Linked DNA regions of Homo sapiens: region 2 is linked to region 1. Evidence: promoter capture Hi-C in 16 types of primary human blood cells and fetal thymus (Javierre and others, 2016). All regions are on one chromosome and are shown on one strand. The core of a region is centred on a gene start or on the middle of the fragment in contact, and the rest is flanking DNA. Distances in the headings are between cores, read along the strand shown.

Region 1 (3,098 bases), core at 277-2,776:
TTCATCACTGTACTCTTGTCTCTTGAGGTGGTCAGCCCCTGGGGAATGAGAGGCTGCATCTGTTTCATAGATGAGTAAATTAAGGCATTTGGCAGCAAGGATCCCTGCTAGGCGGAATTTTGACCTCCTCTGTTGCCAAGGAAACAGCCCATCTTTTAAAACGGGTCGTTTTGGGGGCAGTGTCCATCTGGGTCTGGGGTGCTGAGCCCTCTCCTCTTATCCCCACAGCCAGGCTGGACCCCAGGGGAAGACAGCAGAAGAGGTCAGGTGTTGTCCCATTTCAGGGGAACCCTCTTCTCTGGCTCCCTTATATCCCAGGTACATCCTCCCAGGTGTTCTGTCTCAAGCTGGGAGGGTACAAGAGAGGTGGCCGCAGTCTCTCTGTTAGCTTGGAATGGGCAGAGGCCATGGGCACTTGAGGCAGGCCTTCCCACCCAGCCCTCAGCCCCAGGGCGGGGAAGCACCTCAGGACTGCAAGGAAGCTGAGATCTCCAGCCTTTGGGGGGCATGGCCGGCCAGGCCCTGGGTGCCTTGTCACCTGGGAGGGAGTGCGGCACCTGAGCGTTGGGAGCCCTCGCTGGCTTGCTGTGTGATCTCAGTCATGTCGCCGTCTTCTTTGGGCCCCACTTTCCTCTTACGTAGAATGGGAAGGGGTGAGTTAAATGCTGAAGGGCCTTCCCAGAGCTCTGTCCCTTTGTCCAGCTCTGGTGGCCTTAGCAGCCTCTCCCTAGGGCAGCTTACCTTGGTGTCAGAGCCCTGTTCAGCTTCCTTGTGACAGGGAAGATACCAGGTACCAGGGGTGCCTGGAGGGCAGGGGGAGCTGTCACTATGCCCCTGCCTCTCTCAGTGTCTATCTCTGTTTTCACCCAGGCCCAAGGCCAGAGCTGCTCAGAATGGGACATCCATGTAGGGGACCATGATGATTTCTGGATTTGGAAGCAACAAGGAATCTCGGGGGGTCCTGCTCAGTCCCTGGGGCGCCTACAGAGGCCAGCGGTGGGCAGCGCCTTCGACCTGGCCAGCCATGCCTCCCTGGGGCCTGAGAGCCTGGCCCTGGAAGTGGCCTCAGGAGAGTCTGCTCGTACCAGGCTCCCCCAATACCCAGGGCCTGCTCCTGGACATGGGGAGCAGGGATCCTCAGGCTGCACCTGTCAGCAGTCTCCACCCACAGCTTCAGAGGTCCCTCTGAGGCCTGAGCCACCCAGCAACCTGGAAGACGCACCCCTGCTGCTCCACCCTGCATCCTTCCCCAGGGCAGAGGGGACAAAGGGCAAGCCCGCCACCCCAGGGACTGCCTTGCCAGAGCCTGCCCAGACCCTACACACGCGTCCCTCTTCCAGGAGGACCCGCTACTACATCACTGTCACCCTGCTGGGGCACAGGCAAGCACCAGGGGAGGAGGGTGAAGAACCGGCCCAACCAGCTCCACACCTCTGCGGCCCTGAGGAATCTGAGGGCTGGTGGGAGCCTCCCCAGGGGCCACGCCCCATCACAGGGTGCCGGACGGCCCCGCCTCAGGAACCCCAGCTGAGAGCCCAATCGCATCAGGGGAGCACGGCCCAGCAGCAGGAGCTCCAGGCTGGCTGGACACCTGGGTCCCCACGCAGACTGTGAGTAGAGGTCGGTCTGTGTGTGGAGATGGGAGGGGAGACTGGCCTGGCTGCCCTGTCTTGAGACTTTGCCTATTCCCTGGGCCTCTCCAGCTCTAGGCCCATTCATTCAGGACCCTGAGCCGACTCTGCCTTCCCTCCCTGCTCCAACCCTGCCTTCCTCTCCCTCCCTTTGCCCACAGGCTACCTCCTGGAACCCACTGCTTCTCACCCCCACTGTCCATCTGAGAAAGGGGAAAGTCTGTCAGGGAGAGGATGGGCAGGAAGGGGGGTTGCCTTCTTCACAGCATACACCACTCCCCAGTTCTGTTCAGGAGGCCACAGACTCAGCCTGGGAATTGGCACCCAGCCTAGGTGCTGGGTGTCCTGAGGCGAGTTGCTTAACCTCTCTGGGCCTTGAGTTGTTGAGAGGATTTGGTAGCTGAAAATGAGGAAGGAGGAGGTGGCTACAGGAATATACTTTGAACTCCAGAGACTGGGGGTGCCAAAATAGCAGGGATGCTTATTAATTACGTCTCAGTGACAGCAATAATTACCCCACCTGGCTCTGAGCTGGAAGCCAAAGGAGTGGGTGTCGAGTTTCCCAAGCCTAGTTTTATTTGTGTTGAAATGACTCTCCTAAATCTGCCTGGGGGGCGCAGAGGTGGAAGGATATGTCCCCCAAAGCTCATCAAGGAGGGATGAACATGGAACCTCCCAGGGATGACCCTGAAGAGGAAATGAGCCTGGGGTGGGGTTTTGAAGGGTGCTTAAGGATGATGGGGTGGCTGTCATTTGCAATTTGTTTTCTAAGCATAATTTTATTTAATCTTCCCAACCATCCCATGAGTAGGGACTGATCCCAACCCCTGTCACCTAATTCTAGGAGGCTCTGAAAGTCACTTGCTCAAAGTCAACTAGAAAGTGAAGGGGCTAGAATCTGAACTTAGGTTTCTATAACTCCAGTGCCTGTGCTCTAACCACTGCTCCATCCTGCCTGGAAGAAACCTCTTTGGCCCTGTGCAGAGAGTGGAGGGTTGAGTGAGGTTGCTGTGTGGGCTCCAGGGTTTTCTAGGCTCCTATGGCGGTGGATTGGGCAGCATTGTAGTAGCAGAGGCAGAATCAGGAATGCTGGGGTCCTCCAAGCAGGGGTCAATGTGACTGCTTCCGTGCCAAGGAAGAGGGAGATGTAGGACCCAGGCTGGCTCTGAGACCTGCTTGGATGCCCCAGAAGTCAGGGGCTGGGGGACAAGGGCTGCAGAGAGAGGGAAGGGGGGTGGAGGAGGCTACCTTGGAGAGGGGGACGGGAAAGAGAAGTAGGGTTAGCTGGGGGGAGGTGGTTTCTATCTGCCACTACCTGGGTATTTTGGGCCCAGGTGGATAATGACAGACTCAGGTGGGAGGCTAGGGCTCACTTAGAGTGGGGGGCAGGTGACCTCCAGAAACATCATCCTTCTATGTCCCCTTCCTGGGAGAAGGTTCTCTGGGCCAAGATTGGCAAATATGGGA
Region 2 (3,098 bases), core at 276-2,775, 250 kb after region 1:
TCCCCAGCCCCATAAATCAACATGAATCTGAGCCTTACTTTTCCTATCTGAAGAGAGGTCACATGGGAAGAGGCAAATGGGCTGTCCCTAATTAGAATGGGTCCACAGGAAGCAGATTATCATGGAGCAATTTTACCTATAAACTATAGATAAATAAATACAAATCGGTAATATAAATAAATAATAGGTAATATTCATACTAACTTCTGTGCGAGGCACTGTGCAAAGTACTGTTTATAGAGTGATCTCATCTAATCTGCACAGTGACCCTGTAAAGCATGTGCTATTATTGTCCTCCCTTTTACAACTGAGGAAACAAAGGTTCTAAGAGGTGAAAGAACTTGTCCAAAGTCACACAGGCACTTCAATTGGGGTCTAACTGCGTGTGTGTGTGTGTGTGTGTGTGTGTGTGTGTGTGTGTGTTTGAGATGGAGTCTCGCTCTGTCCCCCAGGCTGGAGTGCAGTGGCACAATCTTGGCTTACTGCAACCTCCGCCTCCTGGGTTCAAGCGATTCTCCCACCTCAGCCCCCTGAGTAGCTGGAATTACAGGCGCCCGAGTAGCTGGAATACAGGCGCATGCCACCACTCCTGGCTCATTTTTGTATTTTTAGTAGAGATGGGGTTTCACCATGTTGGCCAGGCTAGCCTTGAACCCCTGGCTTTAAGTGATCTGCCCGCCTTGGCCTCCCAAAGTGCTGGGATTTCAGGCATGAGCCACCATGCCCGGTTGTGTGTGTGTGTGTTTTAAAAGACTTTATTTTTAGAGAAGTTTTAGGTTCACAGTGAAGTTGAGTGGAAATTACAGACTTCCCATATACACCCTGTCCCCAAGGCACATCTTGGAGTCTTTCTTCCCACCAGATTGCTGACCCTGAATTTCTCCTCTGGAGAAATTATGAGAGGCATCATTGATGCATTGTTAGAGACCTAGTACCCACTGAGCCAACCACAAGTTGTTATCAAAATGCCACAATGAGGTCATTAAGGGCGACTGGCTAGGCCTGTCAGTGAATGTTTCCGGAGCAGCTCCTAACTGCTGTAGCAGAGAGAATCCCCGACAGTGTCCCCTCCCTTCTTCTTCCCAAGCTTGGGGAGCCCCAGCCCCATTTCTTTTCTTTTCTTTTCTTTTTTTTTTTTTTTTTTGAGATGGAGTCTTGCTCTGTTGCCTAGGCTCGAGTGCAATGGCACAATCTTGGCTCACTGCAACCTCTGCCTCCTGGGTTCAAGCGATTCTCCTGCCTGAGCCTCCTGCGTAGCTAGGATCATAGGCATGCGCCACCATGCCTGGCTAATTTTTGTATTTTTGATAGAGATGGGGTTTTGCCATATTGGCCAGGCTGGTCTCGAACTCCTGACCTCAGGTGATCCACCCACCTCGGCCTCCCAAAGTGTTGGGATTATAGGCGTGAGCCACTGTGCCCAGCCACCCCAGCCCCATTTCTGCAGGGGGAGGCTGAGGGAGAAACTCCTTTAGGAAGGGTATTAGCTTTGGCACTAACACGCTGTGTCATCTTGAGCAAGAAAGACTCCCCCCTGCTGTGGGCCTCAGTCTCCCCATCTGCAAAATGAGGGGGTCTGACCAGCTCATCTCTAAGGATCCTTATAGCTCCAACACTCTGATTCTTGAATCCTACACCTCCACTATGCTTGTAATAAGAAGATCAAAATGTTTATTTCTGATCCAGCCCCTGAGACAAGTGATCTGGGGGCCCACAAAGGTCTTGCACCAGGTATAACATTAGCTGTTTTTGTCTTTGGATGGGTCCTAGTTGTCTTCTTGGTGAGGACTGAGAACAGCTGGAGCAGCTGATGGTTAAGACCCAGGTTCACATCTCCTGCCCCTGGGTCCAAGAGCTGCTGGGGATGCCACCATCTGAAAACCATGCTGGATGGGGGTGTTGGGAGTGTCCCAAACTGAGGATTCACCCGACTCCTCAGCAGGTCCTGAAGTGTTAAAGCTTCGGCTTCCTCTGATTCTCTGGCCTCTTCTGGATGCTTCATGTTGCAAGAGCAGAAACTCAACTCAAAGTGACTGAAAGGAATGATTGGTACATTTACCTAAGAGAAATGGAGGTGGGAGGGCTAGCTTCGGGAAGGAAGTTTGATTCAGCAGCTCACATGTCACCAAAGACTCTAGTTTCCTCTGTTCTGCCTCCCATGATGCTGCCTTCATCTTAAGGCTGGCTTCCCTTGTGGGCCTCGGGGTCACCAGTGGGAATTCAGCCTTATGAGATCATATCCTGCAGGAATGAGAAAGTCAACTTCTCTATTCCTCAAACAACATTCCTGAAATTAAGTCTTGTTGGACCTGATTGGCTAGGGGCTAGGGAGTAGGGGGTAAGAGATAGGGTTGTGGGCCCCTCCTTGACCAAGCTCTGTGTCCTGAAGGATGGGGCTTACTGGCAGGCTTAAATTCAGAGGCTGGTGGGTGGCTAACAAATGTCTTGACATATACCCCTCTCTTCAGAAGTCAACTAGTGCCTGGCACATGGTGGCACTTTGTTCGTTAAGTCAACAGCTATTTGGTGAATATCCACCACGTGCAAGAAATTGTGCTTGATGCTGAGAAAAAGCAGTGAACAGAAAGATAAGGTCCCTGCCCTCATGGACTTTCTCTGGGAGGGGAGACAGACATATAAATATGCAGACAGTACAATTCAACCAGTGCCAGCTGAGGTTACATAGCCCAGGGGAGGAAATCCAAACTGTGCTTCTGTGGAGGGGAATGGCGGGCAGGAAAGCTTTAGAGAGGAGGTAGCATTTACACTGGGCCTTAAATTTAGCCATTCCACAATGTATTCATATTTCAAAGCATCATGTTGTACATATGAGTAAATAAATACAATTTTTGTCAATTTAAAAAATAAATAGAAATTTGAGGGTCAGAGTGAGACACTCCTTTAAGCTGACATTCTTCAAATATTTGCTCTATGGTTATTTAGAGCAGGGGCTGGGAAGGAGGCACAGATAACCACACTTAGCCTCTCGATGGTCCTGACCTCCTGGACCCTGGACAAACCTGTAGACTCCACAAGGCCCGCTAATTCATGTAGCTGCGAATATTACTTAGGCTGGCCCCTGACCTCCCAGCCCCAAG

Evidence for each region. The method cuts DNA at HindIII sites, captures the fragments that hold promoters and counts their contacts. A CHiCAGO score of 5 or more calls a contact.
Region 2: a fragment that was not itself captured here is called in contact with the fragment with the promoter of CRYBG2 in region 1 in 1 of 17 cell types (endothelial precursors); the score reaches 5.1 in endothelial precursors.

Annotation. Positions count from the first base shown.
Region 1 is chr1:26,352,558-26,355,655 of GRCh38, reverse strand. It overlaps CRYBG2 (crystallin beta-gamma domain containing 2), which reads left to right and starts at 1,526. Exons shown (of 20, transcript NM_001039775.4): 1 at 1,526-1,620. The HindIII fragment of the contact is 7,544 bases long and covers 1-3,098 here.
Region 2 is chr1:26,101,811-26,104,908 of GRCh38, reverse strand. No RefSeq gene overlaps it. Among named protein-coding and RNA genes, the nearest start is that of PDIK1L, 8.5 kb to the left of the region's middle. The HindIII fragment of the contact is 872 bases long and covers 1,090-1,961 here.